4 separate regions of the Homo sapiens genome follow, and all the other regions are linked to region 4. Evidence: promoter capture Hi-C in 16 types of primary human blood cells and fetal thymus (Javierre and others, 2016). All regions are on one chromosome and are shown on one strand. The core of a region is centred on a gene start or on the middle of the fragment in contact, and the rest is flanking DNA. Distances in the headings are between cores, read along the strand shown. Region 1 overlaps PABIR3 (PABIR family member 3). Region 2 has its middle 42 kb from the start of PABIR2. Region 3 overlaps MOSPD1 (motile sperm domain containing 1). Region 4 holds the start of HPRT1 (hypoxanthine phosphoribosyltransferase 1).

The links. Contacts are between HindIII fragments. The CHiCAGO score rates a contact against its expected background, and 5 or more counts as called.
Region 1: a fragment that was not itself captured here is called in contact with the fragment with the promoter of HPRT1 in region 4 in 2 of 17 cell types (M2 macrophages and fetal thymus); the score reaches 5.8 in M2 macrophages.
Region 2: a fragment that was not itself captured here is called in contact with the fragment with the promoter of HPRT1 in region 4 in 1 of 17 cell types (endothelial precursors); the score reaches 5.8 in endothelial precursors.
Region 3: a contact is called between a fragment that was not itself captured here and the fragment with the promoter of HPRT1 in region 4, in 1 of 17 cell types (non-activated CD4 T cells). The highest score is 5.8, in non-activated CD4 T cells.

Annotation. Positions count from the first base shown.
Region 1 is chrX:134,819,806-134,827,577 of GRCh38, forward strand. All of the region lies in intron 3 of PABIR3 (PABIR family member 3), which reads left to right. Among named protein-coding and RNA genes, the nearest start is that of PABIR3, 16 kb to the left of the region's middle. The HindIII fragment of the contact is 1,037 bases long and covers 1,151-2,187 here.
Region 2 is chrX:134,751,461-134,758,836 of GRCh38, forward strand. It overlaps a transcript of PLAC1 not described here. Among named protein-coding and RNA genes, the nearest start is that of PABIR2, 42 kb to the right of the region's middle. The HindIII fragment of the contact is 1,029 bases long and covers 1,747-2,775 here.
Region 3 is chrX:134,899,498-134,906,584 of GRCh38, forward strand. It overlaps MOSPD1 (motile sperm domain containing 1), which reads right to left. Exons shown (of 6, transcript NM_019556.3): 2 at 1-37. Among named protein-coding and RNA genes, the nearest start is that of MOSPD1, 12 kb to the right of the region's middle. The HindIII fragment of the contact is 9,641 bases long and covers 1-6,533 here.
Region 4 is chrX:134,456,404-134,464,176 of GRCh38, forward strand. It overlaps HPRT1 (hypoxanthine phosphoribosyltransferase 1), which reads left to right and starts at 3,762. Exons shown (of 9, transcript NM_000194.3): 1 at 3,762-3,935. The coding sequence starts at 3,909. RefSeq lists silencers at 3,634-3,753, 3,854-4,033. The HindIII fragment of the contact is 6,801 bases long and covers 68-6,868 here.

The DNA of each region.
Region 1 (7,772 bases), core at 419-2,918, 360 kb after region 4:
ACCCGGGAAGTGAAGTTTGCAGTGAGCCGAGATCACGCCACTGCACTCCAACCTGGGTGACAGAGTAAGACTCTGTCTCAAAAACAAAAACAAAAGCAAACAAACAAACAAAAAACAGAGAGACTTAAACAATAAGGAGCAATAAGGAGCATTATTATCTCAAATAATAAGAAGCCCCAAGAAAAGGAGGTTCTAGGCCGGGTTAGTTCAGTGGGCCAATGACATCATCAGAGACCCAGGTTCCTTCTATCTTTCCACCCTACCATCTTCAGCAGCCACAGTTAATTATGTAACTAGTAATTAGACCCAGGGTTCAAAATCAATGGATAGCAAGCTCTTATATATATTTAAAGATGTCGAGAAGGATATCTATCAACCTATCTTTAGTAGATATCTCTGGAGCATGACATTATAGGCAGAATTTTATTTTTACTTTATGCATTTCTATACTAGTTGGATGTTTTTCACAAAGCATGAGCAATACAGGTGTTTTCATTTCTAGTAGATATTATATTACAAAATAGAAACATTATTCTTGAAAAAATACAAATATTATTGAATGATATCATAAACTATAAGTTTAATGGTTATGTCCTATACTGGTCTATCCTTAAAATTGGTGCCACAGGCATCTAAAGTAGCCAAATTCATAGACACAGAAGGTAGAATGGTGGTTGCTAGGGGCTGGGAGGAGGAGGGAATGGGGAGTTGTTGTTTAAAGGGTACAGTTTTGCAAGGGTACAATTTTAAAGGGTTTCAGTTTTGCACGATGAAAAGAGTTTTGGAGATTGGCTGCACAACAGTGGGAATGTACCTAACACTGCTGAACTGTATACTTCAAAATGGTTAAGATGGTAAGTTTCACGTTAGTGTATTTTACCACAATTTTAAAAATTGGTGCTGCTTTTCATGTATTTAAATATGGGTAAAACAGGCTGGGCACAGTAGCTCACGCCTGTAATCCCAGCACTTTCAGAGGCCGAGGCAGGCGGATTACTTGAGTTCAGGAGTTTGAGATTAGCCTGGTCAACATAGTGAAACCCCGTCTCTACTAAAAATACGAAAAATTAGCCAGGTCTGGTGGCACGCGCCTGTAATCCCAGTTACTTGGGAGGCTGAGGCAGGAGAATCTCTTGAACCCGGGGAGTGAAGCTTGCAGTGAGCTGAGATCCCGCCACTGCACTCCAGCCTGGGCGACAGAGACAGACTCCATATGAAAAAAATATATATATACACATATATATGTATATATATATATTTTATATTATATGTGTGTGTGTGTGTATATATATATATATATGGGTGTGTGTGTGTATACATACGTATATAGGTAAAACCGTGTTTTAGAAACAAATCACTGTGACAGAGGGCATTGAAGAGCCATGGGTTTTTGTGTTGAATGAACACAAAAATAAAGATGCGTATTTTCCAAGCATTGTAAAAAAAAAAAAAAAAAAAAAAACTGTTCCCTCACAATTATTTTGTTTAATTAAGTGCAAATATTTTCTTCACTTCTCTCAGGAAATTACTTCACCCACTTCTGTTGAACAGAAGCCCAAAGACCTCTTCTGACCTTGAGACTATGCCTTCTCCCAAATCGCCCCTTTGCTTTATCTCCTAAGAACTCTGAAGTTGCCATGCCTGTTCCTTTCTCTCCCACCAGGAATTCTGGCACTTCTGCTCAAGCCGGATGTCACTGCGTCACTTCTCCATCCCCACCCCCTCCTCTTCCAAAGGAAGCAGGGGAAATGTCTCATCTTCCTAAGAGAAAAGGTTGTGCTTTTCTTGAGCAATTCATCTGTTCTAATTTTAGGCCTACTGACATCTGTCTCATTAGGTTTTGCTTTTCCTATTGGCAACCACAAACCCCAAATCTAGTGTATGGCCCACAAAGTTGCAAGCATGTAATACATTCCTGATCCTGCTTTATGCCCTGCACATCTAGCCCATGTTCAGTTCATGTTAAGTAGCATTATAAACCATCTTAAATCATTTCTGAAACTAGGCAGAGACATTTATAAACACAGTGTACAACCCTTTGTTTAGGATTTTCTGAGCATTTTATCTCTAGTTACTATAGTAGGAAATGGCTTAAAAACAGCAAACCTAGGAAAATGAAAAATAATTTTTAAAAATCTTAATGTCTTTACAATATGAATTTTCTGTGATCTCTCTTAAATGGAACTAAGCTTGGTTTTTCCTCCTATCTTAATCCTTTCACTGGAGATAATTCTTAGTAATTAGCTTCACCCAGCACCCTCCCTAACCTCCCGCTACTTCTACTCCCAGCCACCTTCACACCATGACATCATTCCTTGGTGCTGATACTCTTGGTTCCTTCCAAGGACTTTTCTTTCTTCCTGGAGTGTGAGAAAAAGGCACAGTGGGAAATTTACACAAAAGATACCAGTGATGTTTATTACATCTCAGTGAAGTCATTATTTCTATTTTAATACTTTGTTTCATGTGGAAAAATTATCTAAGGTAATTCCTTTGCAAACGCCACTTGTAGTACTTAATTTGGGGAGAATTCTCTTCCAGAAGCCTTGTTTTCTGCAATTAATTTCTCACATTATTACTAAAAGAATCAGCCAATACAAGATTTGATCCACATTTTGTCCAATTAAAAAATTCTTGTAGCTTATGATTCTGTAGCTCAAGTTCAAATCCTACCTACCTCAGACATTTCACACTATCTCCCTGCTGGTGTCATCAATTTCAGTCTATCTTCTCATGATTTCCTGGATGAAGTTTTTCAGTGGGAAATCCTAAGCCTTTGCCTGAACCTAAATTGGTTCCTTCCCATCCCTTAGGTATAAATTAAAAATAATCTCTTCTAGGGAAGTCTTTCATCATTATTTTATGAAGGAAATTTGCCATACCATGTTTTCTCACTTATAAGTCGGAGCTAAATGATAAGAACTTATGAACACAAGGAAACAACAGACACTAGGGTCTACTTGAGCGGGGAGGATGTGAGGAGGGAAGCAGAAAAGATAACTATTAGGTACTGGGCTTACTACCTGGGTGATGAAATAGTATGTACAACAGGCCAGGCGCGGTGGCTCACACCTGTAATCCCAGCACTTTGGAAGGCCAAGGTGGGCAGATCACCTGAGGTCAGGAGTTTGAGATCAGCCTGGTCAACATGGTGAAACCCCATCTCTACTAAAAATACAAAAAAATTAGCTGGGCATGATGGTACGTGCCTGTAGTCCCAACTACTCAGGAGGCTGAGACAGGAGAATTGCTTGAACCTGGGAGATGGAGGTTGCACTGAGCTGAGATTGCACCACTGCACTCCAGCCTGGGTGACAGAGCGAGACTCCGTCTCAAAAAAAAAAAGAAAAAATATGTATAACAAATCCTGGTGACACATGTTTACCTATGTAACAAACCTTCACATGTACCCCCAAACCTAAAATAAAAGTTAAATAAATAAAAAATTAAAAAATAGAAAGTAATTGTCTTATTTATGACATGTCATTATAATACAGCCAAAGTGTCATAATTTCTATAGAAAGTATATGTATACATTTAAGTTCAGGTTATATATCTTTTTCATTAGATTATAAACTTTATAAACCATAGTGTTTCATGTTATATATTGTGAATTTTCTGGGCATTTGATTGATGCAGATGTGAACCTTAGTAGCATGAATTAAACGTATTAAAATTCTGCCTCTTCAAAGGTGTGTGTGTGTATCTGTATATATGTGTATATATATGTATATTTGTATACGTGTATTCTATGTACATATATACATATATACATACACGTATACATATATATGCATATACATGCAAAATGTATACATGTACACATATATATCCATGTGTATATGAGAGTTTTTCAGGAAAACCTAAATTTTTCAGATTCTGTTCATGCCACTGCACAACTTCTCAATTAGTGTTATTAAAGGGAAACACTGAGGAAGAATCTCCAACACTGTATAAATCACAATGTTTTCTGCTTGCTTTGAAAGTTTGATTATTTTTATAGTATGCCTTAAGAATGGGCACGTAAATATTTTTTAAATTAGCAATATTTGGGGTTCAAAGTAAAAAAGAAAAAAAAGTCACAGTATCTAATGTTGAGAGGGTATGAGGAAATAGGTATTCTAATACACTACTGGGAAGTAAATTTGTATAAGTTTTCTGGAGGGCAGCTTGGTGATATGTATCAACAACCTTGCAACCCAGAAACTCCAGCTCTATGAATTGATCCTAAAGAATTAATTAAGGATGTGCACAAACATTAGCTTAAAAGATATTATTACAACATTATTTATAAGAGCTAGCAAAAAATATGGCAACAGCCTGAATGTCTAACAATAGGGAATAGGTCAATCGAAAGAGCCTTCGTTACGTGTATTTGAATTCCAGTTCTAGCAATGACTGCATAACCCCTTGGACAAGTTGCTTAATCACTGTAGCCCTCAGTTTTTCTGAGGCAAAATGAAGGTGATAATAATGCCTACCTCATGGGGTTGCTGTGAGAATTGAGTGAGATAAAACGTGTGGCACATAATAAAAGTGCTGCTTATTATTATGGTACGTCCTTACAGTATAATATTCAGCACTTAAAATGGTGTTGCAGATGAATTTTAACATGGAAAGACTCAGAATGTATTAAATTATATATATTGAGTATATATGCTTTATAATGAGAAAAAATGTGAGCCTATTTCTGTTAAAAACAAAAAGATCAGGGCCAGGCCCGGTGGCTCATGCCTGTAATCCCAGCACTTTGGGAGGCCAAGGCGGGTGGATCACTTGAAGCCAGGAGTTCGAGACCAGTCTGGCCAACATGGAGAAACCCTGTCTCTACTAAAAATATAAAAATTAGCCGGGCGTGGTGGCGCACGCCTGTAATCCCAGCTACTCGGGAGGCTGAGGCAGGAGAAATGCTTTAACCCAGGAGGTGGAGGTTGCATTGAGCCAAAATTGGGCCACTGGCCACTGCACTTTAGCCTGGGTGACAGACTGAGATTCCTTCTCAAAAAAAGAAAAAAGAAAAAAAATAAAAGATCAGGACAAACAGGCAGAGCATAGGGGAATTTTAGGACAGTGAAACTATTCTGTACCATACTATAATGATGGATGCATGTCATACAAAACCCTTAGCATGTCCAACACCAGGAGTGAACCTAAATGTAAACTATGAACTTTGGGTGGTAATGATGTGCCAATGCAGGTTCATTGGTTGTAAAAAATGCACCATTCTGGTGAGGGATGTTGGTAGTGGGAGAGGCTGCACTTGTGTGAGAGCCGGAGGGGGGTATGTGGGAACTCTTTATAATTTCTGTTCAATTTCGCTGTGAACTGAAGAGTGCTCTAAAAAATAAAATATATTAAAAATAAATAAATGAAAGTTCAAATAGGAAAAGACTGGAAACTGCTGGGTAACAGGGGACAGATAGCCTAGTTTTATAAATACTTAGCATATAATTCAAATTGTTTATGTATCATTAAAGGATGTATTCTAGAGTGTTTGATGATGGTAGTAATAATGGTGGTAGTAGTAATAGTTACCATTTATTTAGCACAAACTCTGTGCCAGGTGCTGTGCTAAACACATTACATGTATTATCACCATTATCACATTAAATAGATGCTTAAAACAGCAACTCTAGCATGTTGTTCATAACACTATTGCCTATAGCAACAAATTATATATCCAATGTATCCCTTTAATATAAGTTTTATCCAGAAAAGATTTCTGACTTTTGTTAGAAGGGTCAGCTAGTAGCATTATTGATTTGAATTACAAATTTCCTTAAGATATCAACCCTGGAACATGATTAGTACAGGCCAGTCTGAGTTATGCGCCAGTCAAGAGTCCACAACTGTCAGATTTTTTTTATTATTATTATTTTTTGAGTCAGTCTTGCTCTGTCATCCAGGCTGGAATGCAGTTGATCTTGGTTCACTGCAACCTCCGCCTCCCAGGTTCAAGTGATTCTCCTGTGGCAGCCTCCAGAGTAGCTGAGATTATAGGCGCCTGCTACCACGCCCGGATCTTTTTTTTTTTTTTTTTTTTTGTCTTTAGTAGAGATGGGGTTTCACCATGTTGGCCAGGCTGGTCTTGAACTCCTGACCTCAAGTGATCTGCCTGCCTTGGCCTGTCAAAGTGCTAGGATTACAGGTGTGAGCCACCGCATCCAGAGTGACATGTTTATACCCATTCTCTGGATAGCAATAGAACCAGGCTCAGGGCTGATGATATGTATCTGAGTATATCTATTCCAAAGTTAAATAGATGGTGCTATTAGGTGTAACCTGCTCTTCTCCTATGTATAACAGAGTAGATCATTTTCCCACAGTTCAAACTCTTTGAGCATGACATTTAAAGCTTTCTAATATCTTCACGCTTTTGGCCTCAGAGTCCTTTCTCCCTCCACGAACTTGGTGTGCCACTCACACAGGGCCAGTATCCTGTCTTAAAACATGCCAAGCACTTTCACTTTTCTGTTGCTTATGCTGGCAAACTCCTTGTTCTGAAGGTCCAACTGAAATACCACCTTATGCCTTTCTTATTTGTCTTCCACCTCCCAGCCCCTACACACACCCACTTCATCTTTGCTTTTTATTCCCACCCCACTTTGCTTTCATTTGACATGCACTTCCTTGTCTCTTATATAAAATCTGCTTCCAAGACTGGTTTCTTCAGTGGATTGTAAGGTCTCTGAGTAATAACTGAGGGTAATAACAACAGCTTATTAGCTGTCTTTTTTTTTTAAGAAAAAAATTCTCTCATTCCCCTCTGAGCAGAAAAATAGCTCATTAAACATAGCAAGTATTCAAAAAATAGTGAAATACTTAACAGCTAGCCATATTTTGACAATAGCGAATTATTGTGGTGAAGTAGTTGTTGCTAATTGTCAAATAAAATTTATATGTAGTAAATTTTCAGTTACCCACATACCAATTTTCTATTGTTATTTTTACAACCTTGGCTGTTTCTTCTACTTTCTAGCAAATGATTTGAAAAAAAACAAACTGATTTTAATACTTTAAGCAACATATAATTAGTGAGGTGATATATTCCTTAAGCAGCAATATGATACATTTTAAAACCCAACAAAAATTCAGACTATCTGCTTCATAGAAACATTTATTTATCCAACACATACTTTATTTTATGTATGTATTTATTTATTTATTTATTTGGAGATGGTGTCTTGCTCTGTTCCCCAGGCTGGAGTGCAGTGGCACGATCTCAGCTCACTGTAAGCTCTGCCTCCCAGGTTCAAGTGATTCTTCTGCCTCAGCCTCCTGAGTAGCTGGGGTTACAGGCACCCGCCACCATGCCTGGCTAATTTTTGTATTTTTAGGAGAGACAGGGTTTCACTATGTTGGCCAGGCTGGTCTCAAACTCCTGACCTCAAGTGATCCACCCGCCTCCGCCTCCCCCTCCCGAAGTGCTGGGATTACAGGCATGAGCCACCACACATGGCCCAACACATACTTTTTGAACACTCATCTTCCCTCCACTCACTAACTCACTCCTCTTACTGCCTTTCATGGCCACACTCCATCTATTGGTTTCTACTGGGAACCTTAGCAACCTCTTTTTCAACCTTCTGGTCATTTCTCCAATCTACCTCCTTCTCTTCACTCTCCCTTTTTCATTTAGACCCTCACCATCTGTGACCTGGCCTGTGACCCTGCGTCTAGTCCCTCTTCCATCCACCATCAATGTGTTCTGCATGATGTTGCTAGGGTTACCTTTTTAAAGCAGATATGATCTTGTTTAAACAGCTTTGAGG
Region 2 (7,376 bases), core at 1,011-3,510, 290 kb after region 4:
AAACTTTTAGAATGAATGCTGCATTCCTTTCTTGCTCCTCTGCAATCTGACTTCCGACCTTCTCGACAGAAATAAAGCCACTAAAGACTTTTGGGGCATCTTCTACCATTTTGTTTTCATTCATCACCCTCCTAAAAATGTCTCCTCTCTATCCTGTTCCTCCCATCTCTTGTCTCTGGCACACTACCAATGCTGAAGAAGTGTTGGTTAAATAAGACAATAAGCTTCCCTCCTTGATCATTCACTCCTCCAGGATCTTTCATCCTACATCTCCCTTCTGTTGCAAAAGCCCGGTCCTCTGCTCTTCTTTTGTCAACCCTTCTCTCATTAGCTCATCTTCTCTCACTTGCCTTTAACTATCTGCTCTGTATAAAAATGGGTCTCAGTTTCACAACTCAAGCTGTCAATTTCTCACTTCCATGACTAGCATTACTGGAGAACACCAAGAATAAATGTTTGTATTATTAATGGCTGCTCCCAGTGATGCAAGGAAACCTGCTTTCCAACCCAGTTAATTCCTATGTCCCTTGCAAAACTGTCAGGGCCAACTCTGTAGAAGTTATCAGTGCTTTCCTGTGAGGCTACATTGTGAGGAGATTTCTGGGCTTGTGAAGAGTTAGGGACTCAAGGGGGCAGAAACAAAGGCTGCAAGATGAAAGACATGGGATGGCTCTGGCTAAAGGAACTTTGTCCATATAACAATTCTGCTACAGTCTTTTCTCAGGACTAGTTTCAAAGTCTCAGGATGATATAGAAGTTCGTTTTTCTTTTCATTTCTTCTTTGTTTGTTTTTTTTTAGAGAGGGAAGTGGGTTAGTAACCTCCACATTGCCTCTTCATTGAGAACTACATAATAGCTATAGATTAAAATGAAAAACCCGTCACTTTCAGAAGGGCAATATCATGCAATAAGCCTGCAGCAAATTATACCTTGGTGTTACATGAAGGAAGTTGACAGGACAACACTTTCTTCCCCTTCTCAAAATGAATGTAGAAAGTACACTCTAACCTTTACCAGCATATGATGTCTATAACTAACATGAAGGAAAGTCAAAACTTTTTTTTCTCCCCTTGGCTTTTTTTTTCTTTCAACAGACACATTGCTCTGCTGATAAGAAAGCTAAGAAAGTGGGTAGGTAGAAATATACAGCTCATTCAATTAAATGAAAATTAATGTAATGCAGACAACACAGTGCAGGCTGCTTGATTTTGTTACATTTAACTTAAAGACTACCAGGCCCTGACAAACATCCTTGAAATGTAAATTCAACATTCAAAACCCACAAGTCACACTAAGAGCACTGGGAAACAGGAGAAATACACACTGGACAGATGCAGGCAGTCCCAAAGCTCGGTGATCTTTTACAGCTAGAAGGTCAAGGCAGTTATTTCACAGTGATTTGTATGAAAAGAAAAATAAATTGAAAAGAGGGCATTCATGTATATATGAGATAATTGACATAGCAAAAATAACTCCCAAAGTGAGCATTTACTAGGCAATTTAGGTTAAAATGGTATAAAAGGCAGATTGTTTGGGCCAGCACATCCGCCTTTCTTGCACTTAAAGATAATTTGTAGATGAAGAAACTGCTCTCTTTAAAAAAAGAAAGAAAAAGAAAATCCTCCTCCACAAAGCCTCCTTTCCCACAGCCTTCTACCAAACAGATTATGTTGCTAGGTAAACATAAGCTACCAACAATTTCTGTACCAATATATATAGCAAATTATACTTCAGAGGAAGCCTGCAAGCTTATGAAACAGATGGCAGATTTGTGTCGTGGCCCGAGAAACAATTGTGTTTTGGTAAAATGAGCCACTGCAAGTCTCCCTGACATTTTCCTAGCCTAATCGACATTGACTTTTCATGTCACGAAGTTGCATGAAAGAGCGGGATCATGTAGAAAAGCAGATAAGCATCAGAAGCAATGGCAAAGATGATGCCCTTTTAGAGCTGGAATCATCAGTTTTAAACTTTGAGTTTAAATATACGATAACAGCAAAAAGTAAACCAACACAGCTCCTAATGTATCGCTCAGACCTGCCATCTGGGCTGGAGTCAAATTTAATAAGCCCAACGACATCAACTCTACTTCTCCAGCACTATAACTAATCTTAGGCTGTTTAAACAATCAGGGGCGGGAACGAGATGGTATAATCTTCTGTGAACTGGATGTAACTGGAGAATATATCCATGCTTATTTAGATTTTATAAAAAGAAATTTCGGAGACTTGAGGTCCTTACAGCTCACATTTCTCATCCAAACTAAACTGTTATTTGTTTAATAAGCAACTGGTTCACAACTGGACTTCAACTGTCCCACCACATCCTGGAACAAAGTGTTGAATCACACTCAGATCCACACTGACATCTGCAGGTAATTGAAACAGGACTTCTGTGAATTGATTTCTCGACTCGGGAGTCTCAAACCATTCTCCAGAGTAGTGTGCTAAACCATAAAACTTAAATACCCCGGATGACACAAAATATTTCTTTAAAAAATACTATCAATGTTTAAGTGCTTCCATAGACTAAAATATTGCATATAGCATCTGAGTTCCATCACATAGAAAACCCCACAAACACACAGCTGTCTCTGCCTGGCGTAATTATGGTGATTTTTATTTTCACTTTAAACTTTTTTCTATTTTTCATTACTTTTCATATATTATCCAATGAGCATATGGTACTTTTACAATACGTTATGGCAAGGTTGCTACCTAAATTTTAACCTCAAACTTTCTGTTGTCCCTATCAATTTATATTCACATTAATCAAAGCTTCAACAAAATCCAGCAGAATATTGTTTTATTGTAATAACTGCTGCTATGCAGCACACTTATTTATATAGGCTATCAAAACTCCTAAACATTCACAAGATAGGGAGTAGATTCAAGCTGCTTTAGGCTAATACATGAGATTTTTCTATAGTGCCTTTCCACTGAGCAAAATTTTAAAGTAACATTTATTGGATCGATCTATAATTATAGTATTAGAAAAAAATGGAATCTGCTACCAAGAGACTCCTTTTACAATGACTGTCTAGGGGGAAGCCTATTTTTCTGGGCTTGTAAAAATCAAGTAACTCGCTCAACTTCTGAGGTAAAAGTCAACATAGATGGAAGGCTTTATTCTATGTGTTGAAAATTAGATGTAATAGAAAAATCCATCAAGGATTTCTAGTGGTAGGAGAAAAAGGGGCAATTTCTTAAGGGCTCATTAACAAATTTAATCAACAGGCACTCATAAACAAGCTGTCTTCCAATTTACAAATGTGCTACATTTCGAACATTTATTGTTCTTTTTTTTTTTTTTTTTTTTTGGTGCCTACAATGCATTTTCTTGAAGAGACAAGATTACGCTGGTTAGAGTTCCAATTTGATTCACAAAAGTAAAGCTAAAATACTGTAGGTTTGCAATGAAACGGTAGGAAGCAGTTTTAGCAATAAGATAAATGTTGGAATGACTTTAACAATAAATTATTTTTCAGTTTTCTTATTTTGGTGCATAAGAAAATAATTATAGAAACATAAGAAAGCAGGCCATTTTAAAGCACTTCAGATGCTAACATCCAATTTATCATGTAAATTTGCAACTTTTCTTATTTTTGATCTAGGCACACATTTTATGAGCATAGGCCATGCTGAAGGTTTTACTTTAGCTAGCATGTGGAAATTAGATGGAAATTAGGGAGAAAAAATAGGAGAGAGAGTTTGCCATGGAAAGTGGGCAAGAACTGAAAGAGAAGCGGGGAGAGAGAACTACAGAAAACATAGATTTAGATTCAATTCCTTGCCTCCACGTTACTCATTCATTCATCCAACTATTAAGTGGTAGCTCTTATTGGTGAGTATAAGTACTCTGTAGTTTGTTTGTTCATTGATTTGACAAATGTTAATTGAGCATTTACTTTGTGCGTGGAGCTGGGGATACCAGTGTGAATAAGATAGTCTTGGTCACTATTCTTATACATTTGGTAACTAGTATGGAAGACAGACATTAAACAATCACTGTAATTACAAGTCAGATAAGTGCCATAAAAGGTGAAGCCCAGGGATATCAAGGAGTGCCTAAATGGGAGAACTTAACCTAACCTGGCATTGCTCCTCCTCTCCAAATGATCCAGATGGTCAAGTTGACTGTGTATTTTAAATATATTTGCATCTCTTACTATGTGTGAAGTTGAGTATCTTTTCATATATTTAAGGATCATTTGTATACTTTCTTCTGTGAACTGTGTATTCATGTTTTTGCCCATTTTCCTCCTGAGACTTTTTAGCCTTTTTTCTTTAGATTTAAAAAGTTCTTTATATGTTTGGGATATTGGACCTTTATTTATGTATACATTATAAGTATTTTCTCAGTTTCATCATCTTTCTTTTCTTTTTCCTTTTCTTTCTTTTTTTTTTTTTTTTTTTTTTTTGAGATGGATTCTTGCTCTGTCACCAGGCTGGAGTGCTCTTGGCTCACTGCAACCTCTGGCTCCCGGGTTCAAGTGATTCTTCTATCTCAGCCTCCCAAGTAGCTGGGACTACAGGTGCCCACCACCACGCCCGGCTAATTTTTTGTATTTTTAGTAGAGACGGGGTTTCACCGTGTTAGCCAGGATGGTCTCTATCTCCTGTCCTCGAGATCCGCCCGCCTTGGCCTCCCAAAGTGTTGGGATTACAGGCATGAGCCACCACGCCCGGCCTTCATCATCTTTCTTTTGACTTTGCCTATCTGATTTTTGCCATGCAAAAAAAGGTTTTTACTTTGATTTTTATGTACTTGAAAATACTCATCATTTTATGGCATTTGGATTTGGAGTCATATTTTAAAAGGCTTTCCCCACACCCAGATTATAAAGAAATTAATCGACGTTTTCTTCTAGTGCCTATATGTTTTTTTTTTTAATATTTGGACCACCTGGTACCTATATGGTTTTATTTTTTATTTTTTAAATATTTTATATAATAAGCTCCATTTGGAGCTTATTCTAGGGTACAATGTGAAGTATGGGACCAAATTACCTTTTTGTCCAAATGGCTATCCAGTTGTGCCAATAGAATTTATTTAAAAAGTCCATCTTTGCCCCAGTAATAAACTGTTTATTAAATATTACATTTTCGGCCGGGCGCGGTGGCTCACGCCTGTAATCCCAGCACTTTGGGAGGCCGAGACAGGCGGATCACGAGGTCAGGGTATCGAGACCATCCTGGCTAACACAGTGAAACCCCGTCTCTACTAAAAATACAAAAAATTGGCCAGGCGTGGTGGCGGGTGCCTGTAGTCCCAGCTACTCAGGAGGCTGAGGCAGGAGAATGGCGTGAACCCGGGAGGCGGAGGTTGCATTGAGCCGAGATTACGCCACTGCACTCCAGCCTGGGGGAAAGAGCAAGACTCCGTCTCAAAAAAAAAAAAAAGATTACATTTTCATATATACTTGGGTCTATTTCTGGACTTTCTGCTTTGTTTTGTTGATCTGTCTATTCAGGCACGAGTCCAATAATGGTAACAGGTTATACAGATTAATTTTAAAAAAGAATTTGAAGTGACATGAAAAACAAAAGGGGTCAGCTTCCTTTACAGACGAATGGATAGCTAATAAATGTGGAAGGAACAACAGAATTGGGAAAACGTACCTTTGCAGCCACTGTGTTAAAAACTGATTCAGATAGGGATTATAATGAATGCTAAAACTATCAGATGAAAATTATTGGGGAACAGAATATTTACATGGTCATACTTTAAAGATATTAATTGAATATTAATTACAAAGGAGGAGAATGTGCCTTTACATGGAGAAATCTGGATTACACTACTTTGGTCAAGTGATCCAACTTGGCAATAGGACAAATTGACATTGTATACACCTCCTGACGTGAGGCAATGGAAACCACCTATGTGGTATCTTTGCCAAAAGTGTTTAACCTGAATATATTCATGAGGGAACAATGTGACAAATCCAAATTTTAGGCCATGATACAAGATAACTGGCCTAGAGTCTTCAAAATGAATATTTCATGAAAGATGAAAAAAGTGGGAAACTTTTATATGAAAGACTACTAGAGATATGACAAGTACATGAATTTGTATGACCTTTGATCCTGAATTTGGGATCCTTGATTGAAACAAACAAAAAAAAGCTCTAAATGACATTATTGGGGCAATCGGGAAATTTGAATATGGGCTATGAATAAAATAATATTCTGTCAATCTTAAATTTCTTGGGTGTGCTAACAAAATTGTGATTATGTAGGTAAACACCCTTGTTTTTAGGCAATACAGGCTGAAAAAGTGTCTTGATATCTCCAACTTAATGTCAAATGGTTCATAAAATATGTATATATATATATGTATGTTCTATGTAGTGTTATATATATGTATACACACAGAGAGAGAACAAATGTGGCAAAATGTAAACAAGTGTTTAATCTTCATGAAGGGTATATGGGTTTTTATTGTACTATTCTTTCAACTTTTCTGTAGGCTTGACTTCTTTTAAAATAAAAAGTTGCAGCATACAAAATCAATGTACAAAAATCATTAGCATTTCTATATGATGGCCAATAATGATCTAGACATGAAAGAAAAGAAGGCAATCCCATTTACAATAGTTACAAAAATAAAATATGTAGGAATAACTTCAAACAAGGAGGTGAAAGATCTCTATAAGGAAAACTACAAACACTGATAAAAGAAATTGAAGATGACATAGACAAATGGAAAAAAAAAACCCATGCTCATGGGTTGGAAAAATTAATCTAGTTAAAATGACCACATTGCCCAAAGCTATCTATAGATTCGATGCAATCCTTATCAAAATACCAACATAATTCTTCACAAAATTAGAAAAAACAATCCTAAAATTCATACAGAACAAAAAAAGAGTCCAAGTAACCAAAACAATCCTGAGCAAAAAGAAAGCTGGAAGCATCACATTACCTGACTTCAAAATATATTGCAAGGCTATAGTAACCAAAACAGCATGGTAATGGTATAAAAACAGACACATATACCAATGGAACAGCATAGAGAACTCAGAAATAAAGCCACATACACAGCCAACTGATTTTTGACAAAGCCAGCAAGAACTTTCCCTGGGGAAAGGACACTTTCTTCAACAAATAGTGCTGGGAAAAATGAATAGCCACATGCAGAATGAAATTGGACCCCTATCTCTTACCATATACAAAAATCGACTCAAAATGGATTAAACATAAGACTTGAAACTATAAAAACACTACAAGAAAACCTATGGAAAACTCTCCTGGACATTGATCTAGACAAAGAATTTATGACTAAGACCTCAAAAGCACAGGCAACAAAAACAAAAATAGGCAAATCAAGCTAAAAATCTTCTGCACAGTAAAGGAAACAATCAATAGAGTTAAGAA
Region 3 (7,087 bases), core at 463-2,962, 440 kb after region 4:
TTAGATTCAGTTAAAAACTCCAAAGCATTTTGGCAATCTAGAAATAGAAGGAGAAAGCGAGAAGAAAAGTGAATGATCCCAATTTTCATTAATCTATAGCCCCTACACAAAAAGTATATTTAGCATGCATTAAAACAGGCCCCTGAATCGGCCAGGTGCAGTAGCTCATGCCTGTAATCCCAGCACTTTGGGAGGTCGAGGCAGGCATATCACTTGAGGTCAGGAGTTCCAGACCAGCCTGGCTAATGTGGTGAAATGCTGTCTCTACTAAAAATACAAAATACAAAAATGCAAAATCAAAAATACAAAAATTAGCTGGGTGTGGTGACATGCCTGTAGTCTCAGCTACTCAGGAGGCCGAGGCAGGATAATCGCTTGAACCTGGGAGGTAAAGGATGCAGTGACCCGAGATCACACTGCTGCACTCCAGCCTGGGCTACAGAGGGAGACTCCGACTCAAAAAAAGTCCCCAAATCACTTAAACATGGCTTTTGACTTTTTCCCTTGACTTACTTGTATAGCTTTTACCAAATTATGCAAAGAAGTTTATACATGCTCCTTTCACATTGAGGATTTTAACCTATGATTAATAATCTAAATACTCAAAGGAATAAAGAAGTCTTTCTCAAATTAATGACCCCCTTTCAAAGAGGTGAGATCAAAGGGATATCGCTCTTTTTAAACCTCAGATTTTTTAAAAAGTAGAATAAATTAAGTATCGTCACAACTGATTTTGCATGAGTCCAGCAGAATTCTTAAAGACTAAAAAATAAACACAAAGTAAGTTTCCATGATTTCTGGAGAAAACCATGAGAATCATTTTTACACTCATGTCAACAATACTTTATTTAGTGCCTTCTTGGCAGCATGGGTGGGAGAGTTCTTTTAATCTTTTTTCTACTGAAACCAGAAACAAGCTAAAATGTCTTGAAAGGAGGCCGAATGACCACACATGCTAAGCAGTCCTTGGAATTTTTTTATGAAAATGTGAAGTCAGTAAGTAGGGCTTTGGCATGTGAGTGGCACTGTGCCTCTCCCTCCTACATCAAGTACACATGCTTTGTGAGAGCTATTCTCCAACTTCAGAGGCTTTTTTGGATTCCCTCTGGGTTCCTGAATATGTTCCAGATAGCTATAACTGACAGAAGTCTGAATGCCTGATAAGCGTGATGTTTCTGTATTTATTTCCTAATCTCATTATAATCAATATTCTTATTTACCAAGCACACCAAGTGTGCCTTTTTTTTTTTTTAAGAGACAGGGTCTCCCTATGTTGCCCTGGTTGGATTTGAACTCCTGGCCTCAAGCAATCCTCCTGCCTCAGCCTCTGGAGTAGCTGGGACTGCAGGCGTGCCCCCACAATTGAAACATAGCTTTTAAAAATAAAATGCAAAAGCTAAAATGTACAATCAGAGAAAATATCTGATTTTTACCCTGTGGATCACACCTTTAAAATAGACTATAAGCCATTTAACAGTTTCAAGTTCGGGTTCTCATACATTCAAAGAGAAATAAAACGAATGAATGATTTGGTTTTACCAGCTATTGAGGCTCGTATGCTCTGATTCTGATAGAGGCCTTTCCAACTTCTATCAAATAGGAGCTATATAGTCATGTATGCAAATATTTATTCTTTTCTTTCAGCTGGACATCTATTATATGCCAAGAACTATGTCAGAAGCTGAGCAGAGATACAAAGATGAATAATGCATAGGCTCTACCCTCAAGAAGTTCAAGTCTAATTGACAAGCAAAAATATTGAAGCTACCTCTATTATAATAGATACTTATAAGGATACCATGGTATATATGGTGCTAGAGAATCAGAAGACTACATGAATAATTCTACCTGTAAGAAAGGCCAGGAGTTGGCCGGGCGCGGTGGCTCACACCTGTAATCCCAGCACTTTGCGAGGCCGAAGCGGGCGGATCACTTGAGGTCAGGAGTTTGAGACTAGCCTGGCCAACATGGTGAAGCCCCCGTCTCTACTAAAAATACAAAAATTAGCCAGGCATAGTGGCGGGTGCCTGTAATCCCAGCTACTTGTGAGGCTGAGGCAGGAGAACCACTTGAACCCGGGAGCAGAGGCTGCAGTGAGCCAAGATCACACCACTGCACTCCAGCCTAGGTGATAGAGCAAGACTCTATCTCAAAAAAAAGAAAGGCCAGGAGTTGATATTTGAGGTGGTCTTGGAAGAAAAGAAGGGTACACACTTAAGTGTTGAGGGGAGAGCATTCAGACCAAGGGAACAACAAAGGCACAGAAACATGAAGGTAAAAAGGAAGGCACTTAATGCATAGGCTGCTTCAGATAATCATTCTACTTTATTTCCATACTTTATAGCATGAATGTAATTAACAACAGTGTCGGATGTGTTTTTGTTTTTTTGACTGAGCTGAAAGCGCCTATCAACATTTTCTTAGTAAAGATATCTAATATTTGTATAATTCATAACAGATTATAAACTTTTTAATAATTATATAGACTGAATGAATTAATATACTGTATGTAAAGCTCTTGAATAACACTTACTAAAGGCCAGGCAATGTTCTAAGTGTTTGTTGTTATTATTATTATTTAATTATGAAGAGACCAGACTGAGACAAAAACAAAAACAAGGTTGAAGCCTGGCGCCATGGTGGCTCACGCCTGTAATCCCAGCACTTTGGGAGGCCGAGGCGGACAGATCACCTGATGTCAGGAGTTCGAGACCAGCCTGACCAACATGCAGAAACCCCATCTCTACTAAAAATACAAAATTAGCCACGTGTGGTGGTGGGCGCCTGTAGTCCCAGCTACTCGGGAGGCTAAGGCAGGAGAATTGCTTGAACCCGGGAGGCGGAGGTTGCAGTGAGCCGAGATCGCTGGGCAACAAGAGCGAAATTCCGTCTCATAAATAAATAAATAAATAAATAAATAAATAAATAAAACAAAAAACCAAAGTTGACAGGCCTCCTGCCTCCTAGTCCAGTATTTTTTCCACTGTCTGTCCACTTCAATAAATAAAACTAAGGCTAGATGCGGTGGCTCATGCCTGTAATCCAAGCACTTTGGGAATCCAAGGTGGGAGGATTTATTGAGCCCAGGAGTTCAAAATCATCCTGGGCAATATGGCAAAATCCTGTCTCTACAAAGAATACAAAAATTAGCTGGGGGTAGTGGAACATGCCTGTAGTCCCAGCTACTCAGGGGGCTGAGGTGGGAGGATCATCTGAGTCCAGGGACATTGAGGCTACAGTGAGCCATGACCACGCCACTGCACTCCAGCCTGGGTAACAAACTGAGATTTTGTCTCAAAAAAAGAAGATAAAATAAAACAGAACTAAGATTACCAAGTTCCTGGGTTTATACAAAAAAAAAAAAAACCAAAAAAAAACCAAACTAAGATTATTCTAAAAGGCTTCCGATTAAATAATTCTAATTTTGCATTTTTATTTCTTCTACTCAAAAGCATACACATTTCTATTGGGATAATGTGCTCTCAGAAGTTTGATGTGTTCTCTTTTTTTTTTTTTCAATAAAAAATGGTAAGCTGTATAATTACTATCTTAGGAAGCATTAGGAAGAGAACATCCAAATTTGGCATCACAAAATTATATGCACCATCTCATTCTAAAACTCTGTCGAGATGAGAATTTAATTTAGGATAAAAGGTGGTATCTCTGATTTGTGGAGGATAGATTAATCAATAAATGCTGGCTAAATCAGGTATCTATCTAGAAAAAAAATAATTTATCTTTCACTCCTTAATCAGGGAAAATTCTAAACAGATAAAAGTTTTTTTTAAAAAGTAAAATTAAAAAATAATAATAAAGCCATAAATACTCTAGAAGAAACAATGAGAAAAACAAACAAAAAAACCTCAGGCTTTCTAACAGTGATGTAAAAACAGAAACCAAATTGTTTTTTTTTTCACTTAGAAATTGTCCCTGGCTGGGCACAGTGGCTCACGCCTGTAATCCTAGTGCTTTGGGAGGCCGAGGTGGGCGGATCACCTGAGGTCAGGAGTTCGAGACCAGCCTGACCAACATGGTGAAACGCCGTCTCTATTAAACATACTAAAATTAGCCAGGCGTGGTGGCGTGTGCCTGTAGTCCCAGCTACTTGGGAGGCTGAGGCAGGAAAATCACTGGAACCCGGCAGGTGGAGCTTGCAGTGAGCCAAGATCGTACCACTGCACTCCACCCTGGGTGACAGAGTGAGACTCCATCTCAAAAAAAAAAAAAAAAAAGAAAGAAAGAAAAAGAAACTGTTCCTGAAGGCCAGGCTCGGTGGCTCACGCCTGTAATCCCAACACTTTGGGAGGCCAAGGCAGGCAGATCACGAGGTCAGGAGTTTGAGACCAGCCTGGCCAACATGGTGAAACCCGTCTCTACTAAAAATACAGACATTAGCCAGGCATAGTGGCGTGCGCCTGTAATCCCAGCTACTCGGGAGGCTGAAACAGAGAATTGCTTGAACCTAGGAGGTGGAGGTTGCAGTGAGCCGAGACTGTGCCACTGCACTCCAGCCTGGGCAACAGAGCACGAATCTGTCTTGGGAAAAAAACAAACAAACAAATGAAAAACTGTTTCTGAAGACAGAAACAAACAAAAAATGATAAATTCATCTGTATAACTTTTTAAACTCTGCATGGCAAAAAAACTTTACTTCATAGAAAAGGGACATAGAAATTGTCCTTGAACTTACAAAAGGATGTTTAACCTCACTCACAGCAAAGGAAACCCAAACTAAAGCCATACTATGACACAATTTTTTACCTGTCCCATTAGTAAAACTCAAATTTTGATAGCATATGATGGGAACGATCAAGCATGTGCTTACATTGCTTGTGGGGAGGTGAATTGGCATAACAACTACATGTGCCAAAATTAAATGCACATAGCCTCAGTTCCAGAGATCGTACGTCTAGGGATTTATCTGGCATATATATTCCCCTTTTTGTGTGAAGTCATGTAGGTGAAAGGTTTCTCTGCAGTGCTGAGGGTTAAATAAAATGATTTATGTGAAACAACATGGAACAGAACTTGGCACCCAGTAAGAGCTAGTTTTTTGTTGTTAATAGCAAAAGACTGGAAACAAGCCAGGGGAGGTGGCTCACACCTGTAATCTTAGCGCTTTGGGAGGCCAAGGTGGGCGGATCACCTGAGGTCAGGAGTTTCAGACCAGCCTGACCAACACGGTGAAACCCCGTCTCTACTAAACATACTAAAATTAGCCGGGCGTGGTGGTACACACCTGTAATCCCAGCTACTAGGGAGGCTGAGGCAGGAGAATCACTTGAACCCGGGAGGCGGAGGTTGCAGTGAGCCGAGATCATGCCACTGCACTCCAACCTGGGAGACAGAGTGAGACTCCATCTGAAAAAAAAAAAAAGAAGATTGGAAACAGCCCAACTGTCCATTAAAAGAGGATTCATTAAATAAAGTACAGTCTATCCATTCATTGGGATACCAGATATCAAGAGGAGACTGTGTAGTTGGAGATGGACTGATCTTCAAGTGGTAGTGTTAAGTGAGAAACGCAAGGAGCGGTGCAGTGTGTAATGCATGCTGCCATTTGTATAAAAAGGGAGATAAGGCCGGGCGCGGTGGCTCACGCCTGTAATCCCAGCACTTTGGGAGGTCGATGCGGGCAGATCATGAGGGCAGAAGATCGAGACCATCCTGGCTAACACAGTGAAACCCTGTCTCTACTAAAAATACAAAAAAAAAAATACACCACGCCAGGCGTGGTGGCGGGCGCCTGTAGTCCCAGCTACTCAGGAGGCTGAGGAAGGAGAATGGCGTGAACCCGGGAGGCAGAGCTTGCAGTGAGCCAAGGTTGCACCACTGCACTCCAGCCTGGGCGAGAGAGACTCTGTCTCAAAAAGAAAAAAAAAAAAAAAAAGGGGAGATAAGAATATGTAAACCTATTATCTTGGATATGGGTGAAATTCTTTGGAAGGATATCCGCGTTTGTCCCTGGAGAGAGAAATGGGGGTGGAAGGAATTTTTCTCTGGATATCCTTTTGTATCTTTTGAATTCTGAAGTCTTTGAATACTTATTTAAAAAAAACGAATATTTAAAAAAAAAATTAAGTAACAACTCTACTAGGGCCTACTTTGAAAAAGGTGCCTGTTTTTGAAAACACAAGAGGGAATTTAGAAACAATGTGAAAAATCTCTGTTAACTGTATTTTCTAGTTTATAATCCTCTAAAAACATATTGAAAACCTTAAACTGTGGGCTAAACAGAATAATTTCGATTATTTAAAATAATTTACATGCAACAGAAACATAATGAGAAAAAGATTTAAGATAACTTGCAAACTTAAGAACATGTATAACTCTAATGTGAAACTATTTGTTTTAAAAGAGTATGAAATGGTTCATAAATCTGACTGGGAAGTCAAAATTAACCACACAGACAAATGCTAAACTCTTGGTTCTAACTTTAAGAAGAAGTTAGTCAACAGAGGTCAAAGTAGAAATTTTACTTTTACTATCTTTGAATAATGGCATAGTAGAAATTCTTTTTCTTTTAATTTCAAAGCTTTCTCTTTGTGAGTTGAACATGTACACATTTTCCCATGAATCACGAATAGGCTATCTCCTTGTTACTATAAAAGAAGTGTTTAATAATTTTTGAGCAGTTTACTATTATTTCTTTTCCTATCTCTGTTCCCATTTATCACTTTTTTTTTTTTTTTTTTTTTTTGAGACGGAGTTTCGCTCATTACCCAGGCTGGAGTGCAATGTCATGATCTTGGCTCACCACAACCTCTGCCTCCCGGGTTCAAGCGATTCTCGTGCCTCAGCCTCCCGAGTAGCTGGGAATAGAGGTGCACGCCACCACGCCTGGCTAATTTTTTTTTTTTTTAATTTTTGTAGAGACGGGGTTTCACCATGCTGGCCAGGCTGGTCTTGAACTCCTGACCTCGTGATCCGCCCACCTTGGCCTCCCAAAGTGGTGGGATTACAGGCATGAGCCACCGCGCCCAGCTTATCTTGGCTAAGATATAAGTTGCATCCTAAACTCCAACCAGTGGAAATTAGGGAAGAATTAGCACCAGGTCAACAGAGCAATATTAGCAACTGTGCCAAT
Region 4 (7,773 bases), core at 2,512-5,011:
CCACTGCACTCCAGCCTGGGTGACAGAGCGAGACTCCGTATCAAAAAAAAAAAAAAAAAAAAAGTAAAGCTTATGGAAAGTTATTCTGATGAAAGTGAAACATCTGGCATTATTGAGAAAACCATTATCAACTCATTGAAAAAGTAAACATTTAGTATAAATATTTTTGTGATGATTGTTTTTCATAGAAATACAAATTTTGGCGGAGCACAGCACCATGGTTAAAAACAGACTTCTTAATAAAGAAATTTCTAGAGAAGAAATACAGTTGGACTTGGTTGTGGCGCACAAATAATTCATAATTGTGTTCAAACAAGTCGATTACAAAATTGTTTCTGGCTGGGTGCAGTGGTTCATGCCTGTAATCCCACCACTTTGGGAGGCCGAGGCAGGCGGATCACCTGAGGTCAGGAGTTCGAGACCAGCCTGATCAATATGGTGAAACCCTGTCTCTATTAAAGATACAAAAATTAGCCGGGTGTGGTGGCGTGCAACTGTAGTCCCAGCTATTCGGGAGGCTGAGAAAGGAGAATTGCTTGAACCTGGAAGGCAGAGGTTGCAGTGAGCTGAGATCACACCGCTGGACTCCAGCCTGGGTGACAGAGCAAGACTCCATCTCAAAAAAAAAAAAATTGTTTCTGGAAAGGCATCGGGAAGAGGAATCTTAGGTTACACTCATGCTTTCCTTATTTCTTCCTGCATGCAGATATTCCAGTAAAGAACAGTGACATACCTAGCATATAGGACGTCCAGAGTAGATAATTTTTTAACATTTTTCACCTCTATGACAAAATCATTTTCAATAATAATCATATAATAATTAGGAATAATTATTTTCTTGCTTTTGTCTGTAGTGGGAAAACAATATTTTAGAAGAATACATTTCCACTTTAAATATAATGTGGAAATTCAGTAAACCATTTCATATGTGAACCAGATTTTCACTTACCAAGAAAAAGTCTTACATCTTGCAGATTGCAGTGTTTGCTGTTTTCCATTTTAAATACAAATAAAAAGTCCAAATTGTCACACAGAATGACAAGATTGAAAGAACAGTACTGTTTCTTTGTTTTTACAATCATCTGGCTATCATTATTTGTTTCAAATCCACTATTAAAATACAGGAGTATCTGGTACTGCAGGATTTGGAGAAAGGAACTGCAAGCCAGAGGCAAGCTGGAAGGATTCTGAATTGTTGGGTACCTAATTTAGAAACAAATTTGAGTAGCTGAGACCACATGTGTCAGGGGACGAATATATAACCGGAAGTTCTCTGAATTAACTTCCTGATAGAACACAATGTTTGTTAAAAGGATAAGTAATGAAAATGTTCTAATATGAATTTCAAGTTCTATGCCAAATAGAAATGCATTCATATATTCACCAAAAGATATGTACAAAATGTTCATAGTAGCATTATTTCTAATAGCCCAAACCTGGAAACTGCCCAAATGTCCATCAACAGGGGAATGGATAAGAAGTCTTAGAGGCAGGCTGGGCGTGGTGGCTCACATCTGTAATCTCACCACTTTGGGAAGCCAAAATGGGCGGATCACCTGGGGTCAGGAGTTCAAGACCAGCCTGGCCAACATGGTGAAACCCCATTTTCTACTAAAAATACAAACATTAGCCAGGTCTGGTGTCACACGCCTGTAGTCCCAGCTACTCGGGAAGCTGAGGCAGGAGAATTGCTTGAACCCGGGAGGCAGAGGTTGCAGTGAGCTGAGATCATTCAACTGCACTCCAGCAGAGCAGCAGAGCGAGACTCTGTCTCAAAAAAAAAAAAAAAAGTCTTAGAGGCTAGAAGAAAGTGAACTGTTTAAGGCAAAATTATTATGGAACACGTAACATTGGTATCATCATGTATTGAGCCAAGCTCTATGCTAGGCACTTTTGCATATATTATTTTGTTTAATCTTCACCACACTCTGTGACAGAGATATTAACCTCATTTGACGTATAAGAAACCAAGCACGCAGGGACCAAGGATCTTGCCCAAAGTCAAAATGCTATAATAGTGGGGAACCCAGGATTTGAACTCAGTCCAAAGCCCATACATCCCTTTTCCATTACAGCCTGCTGCCTCTCCAGGATAAAGAGGGAAGACAGGGAAAGTAGGGAAGTATGGACTTCACAAATTCATACATGCTAAAATTATAACAGCTACTGTTTCTTGAGCACCTATTATGTGGCAAATACTATATGAGGTACTTTACATAAATGATTTTTAGAATTCTCGTAAAACTCTTCATGGCAGTAGTTATTATTCTCTCTCTCTCTCTTTTTCTTTTTTCTTGAGACAGGATATTTCTCTGTTGCCCAGGCTGGAGTGCAGTGGCACAGTCTTGGCTCACTGCAGCCTGGACCTCCTGGGCTCAAGCCATCCTCCCACCTCAGCCTCCCAAGTAGCTGGGGCTACAGGCACATGGCCACCAGGCCCAGATAATTTTTCATTTTTGTAGAGACTGAGTCTCACCATGTTACCCAGGTTTATTATTCTCATTTTTTAGATGAAGAGACTGAGGTCCAGAGAAGCTCAATGACTTGCCTAGTTTTACAAATCTCCTGCCATCACATACCCCTCAGCGTCCTTAATAAGAGGGAGGCCACCAACTATGTGCTGGGCACTGTGGTGGATGCTGGAGCTATAGGGTTGAGTATATAAGAAATGGTGTTGCTGGAGCAACTGTTGCTTGCTTACCTGACCTATCTGAGAATTAATTAGCAGGGGAACATATTTTTGTTTTCAGATTCAATATAAGAACTTGTGTGGGCAAAAATAAAGATCAGTAGTAATAACAGTAGTTCCCATTTGCTGACTGTACTGTCCTAAGTGCATATATATATACATACACACACGCATACCTATACTCCTCTAATACTCAAAATGATCCTGTTTATGTATTGTTAATATGCTCATTTTATTTTTAAATTTTTATTTATTTTTATTTTTATTTATTTTTGAGACGGAGTCTCATTCTGTCGCGGAGGCTGAAGTGCAGTGGTGCGATCTCAGCTCAGTGCGACCTCCGCCTCCCGGGTTCAAGTGATTCTCCTGCCTCAGCCTCCGGACTAGCTGGGATTACAGGCGCCCGCCTCCACGCCCAGCTAATTTTTGTATTTTTAGTAGAGATGGGGTTTCGCCATGTTGGCCAGGCTGGTCTCGTACTCCTGACCTTGAGTGATCCACCTGCCTCGGCCTCCCAAAGTGCTGGGATTACAGGCATGAGCCACCGCGCCGGGCTAATATGCTCATTTTAGTGAGGCAAAAATAGAGGCTCAGAGTCTGATTTGTACAAAACTACAGAGCAGTTAAGTGTCCTCTCAGATGTGTACCCTGATCTGGGTGACTCTAGGACTCTAGGTCTCAACTGTTACAACCAGTTAAGGGTTTGGGGAAGCACTGGGCCAAGAGTCAGGAAAATGGAAGCCACAGGTAGTGCAAGGTCTTGGGAATGGGACGTCTGGTCCAAGGATTCACGCGATGACTGGAACCCGAAGAGCCGGGGCCCGGTTTACGGCCGCCATGAAGCAACGCGCGCCGGTAGGTTTGGGAATCAGGGAGCCCTCTGAATAGGAGACTGAGTTGGGAGGGAAAGGGGCTTCGCTGGGGGAGCCTCGGCTTCTTCTGGGAGAAAATTCCCACGGCTACCTAGTGAGCCTGCAAACTGGTAGGCGCCGGCGTAGGCGCGCGGGCGGGGCCGGGGGCGGGGCCTGCGGGGCGTGGCGGGGCGGGCAGAGGGCGGGGCCTGCTTCTCCTCAGCTTCAGGCGGCTGCGACGAGCCCTCAGGCGAACCTCTCGGCTTTCCCGCGCGGCGCCGCCTCTTGCTGCGCCTCCGCCTCCTCCTCTGCTCCGCCACCGGCTTCCTCCTCCTGAGCAGTCAGCCCGCGCGCCGGCCGGCTCCGTTATGGCGACCCGCAGCCCTGGCGTCGTGGTGAGCAGCTCGGCCTGCCGGCCCTGGCCGGTTCAGGCCCACGCGGCAGGTGGCGGCCGGGCCCTGAGGCGCGGGATCCGCAGTGCGGGCTCGGGCGGCCGGGCCCAGGGAACCCCGCAGGCGGGGGCGGCCAGTTTCCCGGGTTCGGCTTTACGTCACGCGAGGGCGGCAGGGAGGACGGAATGGCGGGGTTTGGGGTGGGTCCCTCCTCGGGGGAGCCCTGGGAAAAGAGGACTGCGTGTGGGAAGAGAAGGTGGAAATGGCGTTTTGGTTGACATGTGCCGCCTGCGAGCGTGCTGCGGGGAGGGGCCGAGGGCAGATTCGGGAATGATGGCGCGGGGTGGGGGCGTGGGGGCTTTCTCGGGAGAGGCCCTTCCCTGGAAGTTTGGGGTGCGATGGTGAGGTTCTCGGGGCACCTCTGGAGGGGCCTCGGCACGGAAAGCGACCACCTGGGAGGGCGTGTGGGGACCAGGTTTTGCCTTTAGTTTTGCACACACTGTAGTTCATCTTTATGGAGATGCTCATGGCCTCATTGAAGCCCCACTACAGCTCTGGTAGCGGTAACCATGCGTATTTGACACACGAAGGAACTAGGGAAAAGGCATTAGGTCATTTCAAGCCGAAATTCACATGTGCTAGAATCCAGATTCCATGCTGACCGATGCCCCAGGATATAGAAAATGAGAATCTGGTCCTTACCTTCAAGAACATTCTTAACCGTAATCAGCCTCTGGTATCTTAGCTCCACCCTCACTGGTTTTTTCTTGTTTGTTGAACCGGCCAAGCTGCTGGCCTCCCTCCTCAACCGTTCTGATCATGCTTGCTAAAATAGTCAAAACCCCGGCCAGTTAAATATGCTTTAGCCTGCTTTATTATGATTATTTTTGTTGTTTTGGCAATGACCTGGTTACCTGTTGTTTCTCCCACTAAAACTTTTTAAGGGCAGGAATCACCGCCGTAACTCTAGCACTTAGCACAGTACTTGGCTTGTAAGAGGTCCTCGATGATGGTTTGTTGAATGAATACATTAAATAATTAACCACTTGAACCCTAAGAAAGAAGCGATTCTATTTCATATTAGGCATTGTAATGACTTAAGGTAAAGAGCAGTGCTATTAACGGAGTCTAACTGGGAATCCAGCTTGTTTGGGCTATTTACTAGTTGTGTGGCTGTGGGCAACTTACTTCACCTCTCTGGGCTTAAGTCATTTTATGTATATCTGAGGTGCTGGCTACCTCTTGGAGTTATTGAGAGGATTATAAGACAGTCTATGTGAATCAGCAACCCTTGCATGGCCCCTGGCGGGGAACAGTAATAATAGCCATCATCATGTTTACTTACATAGTCCTAATTAGTCTTCAAAACAGCCCTGTAGCAATGGTATGATTATTACCATTTTACAGATGAGGAACCTTTGAAGCCTCAGAGAGGCTAACAGACATACCCTAGGTCATACAGTTATTAAGAGAAGGAGCTCTGTCTCGAACCTAGCTCTCTCTCTCTCGAGTAATACCAGTTAAAAAATAGGCTACAAATAGGTACTCAAAAAAATGGTAGTGGCTGTTGTTTTTATTCAGTTGCTGAGGAAAAAATGTTGATTTTTCATCTCTAAACATCAACTTACTTAATTCTGCCAATTTCTTTTTTTTGAGACAGGGTCTCACTCTGTCACCTAGGATGGAGTGCAGTGGCACAATCACTGCTCACTGCAGCCTCGACTTCCCGGGCTCGGGTGATTCTCCCCAGGCTCAGGGGATTCTCCCACTTCAGCCTCCCAAGTAGCTGGGACTACAGGTGCGCACCACCATCCCTGGCTAATATTTGTACTTTATTTTATTTATTTATTTATTTATTTTTTGAGATGGAGTTTCGCTCTTGTTGCCCGGGCTGGAGTACAGTGGCATGATCTCGGCTCAGTGCAACCTCTGCCTCCCGGGTTCAAGCGATTCTCCTACCTCATCCCCCTGAGTAGCTGGGATTACAGGCGCCTGCCACCATGCCTGGCTAATTTTTTGTATTTTTAATAGAGACGAGGTTTCACCATGTTGGCCAGGCTACTCTCGAACTCCTGATCTCAGGTGATCCACCCGCCTTGGCCTCCCAAAGTGCTGGGATTACAGGCGTGAGCCACTGCGCCCGGCCTAATATTTGTATTTTTTGTAGAGATGGTGTTTTGCCATGTTGTCCAGGCTGGTCTTGAACTCCTGAGCTCAAGCGATCTGCCCGCCTCTGCTTCCCAAAGTGCTGGGATTACAGGCATGAGCCACCGTGCCTGGCCTAGGTAGACGCTTTTAGCTTTGGGGTGTGATGCCTGCCCCAGTATATAGTGAATTTAATTATTGCTAGAGCTGGCTGTTTGTTAGTTTTCTTTGAACATAAGATACTCATTGTTTTTAGTTTGCAAATCCCTCTTCCTTTTTAAAAAATTTCTTTCCCTTAAATTGTTTGCATGTTAGCAATAACAAATGCTTAAATGGTGCTATGTGCTAGATACTCTTCTAAGCCCTGTTATGTATATTAACTAATTTTTTAAATTACACAAATCAGAGAGGTTAAGTAACTTGCCCAAGATTACCCAACAATACTAGGATTTGAACCTAAGTTTGTCTCACCCCAGATTCTGCTCTTAATCTCTAAACTTTTAAGTTAGTAGTGACAATAGTAGGTATTTATTGAATACTTAACTATGTTTTAGGCGTTGAAGTAAATATTTTGCAGGCATTATCTAATGTAAACACCCTAAAGTTACATAACAGGTACCCTTTAGGTAAATAAACACTAGTATGACCTTGGAGGCACAGATAGTTGAAGTAACTTGCCCAATATCACTTACATGAAATTGGCCCTCAAATGTGTCTGATACAACCCATGCTGCTTGTAACTATCGTTTTAAACTGCCAGGGTAAACTTGGACACACTTGAGCTAAGAAAAAGCTTTTAGATTTTTGCAAATTAATGTGAAAGATATGCTTTATGTGGATATAATATCTTCTAAATTTCGGGGATGGTAGTCCTAGAAATGTAATCCTGCCCTAGCCGAGCTTACCCTGCCAATAATTTTTTACAGAATTGGTAAAACGGAGCACCTTTTTTTTGTCCTTGGCCACACTGTTATCAACAGGGTGTAGATTGACATCAATCTGTAGGTGTAAACCAGAATTACTCTTTGTGACCACCAGGAAATAGAGCAGTTCAGTTCAGGGGTTTCTTTCTGTGAATTTAGCACTGTGACCTGCATACTACAAGTCTACTTTGTTTTCTATCCATTGTTTGTATCTGGGTATTGCAAAAGGTAGGAAAAGGACCAACCAGATCAGCAGAGAAGAGTTGCCTTGGAGTTTTCTTTTAGTTTTCTGCAGTTCATTAGATAGTAACTAGGCCATGTCATTTTACTCCCTTGTAGTGAAGATATGTTGAAGTTGTACTGGTATACTCTTCTACCTTTCTGTAATTTTATATTGTGTAGACTTGATAAAATTTATGTGTCAATCACCACCATTAATATCAATATTGAGCCTCAATTCTTATTTTTCTGCCCAGTGGCTGCCAAATTACTAACATTTACAATAATTCACTACTACTAAGATAATCTACTAGTTCGATCACATACTTCAAATTGTTATGGAACTACTGTCTTCAGCATTGTGCTTCTGATAACTGATAAGTATAATTTTTTTTTTGTCCAGAGTGAACATGTCTATTCTTCCACTGTACACACTAATAAAAGGAAAAATTGTAATATTGGGTAAATTCATGTCCTTACACATGTAGTAGTTATGAGCCCATGTCCCTAGAATGAGTAATAATTTATCCCTCCCTTGGTTGAATAGTCAAGAA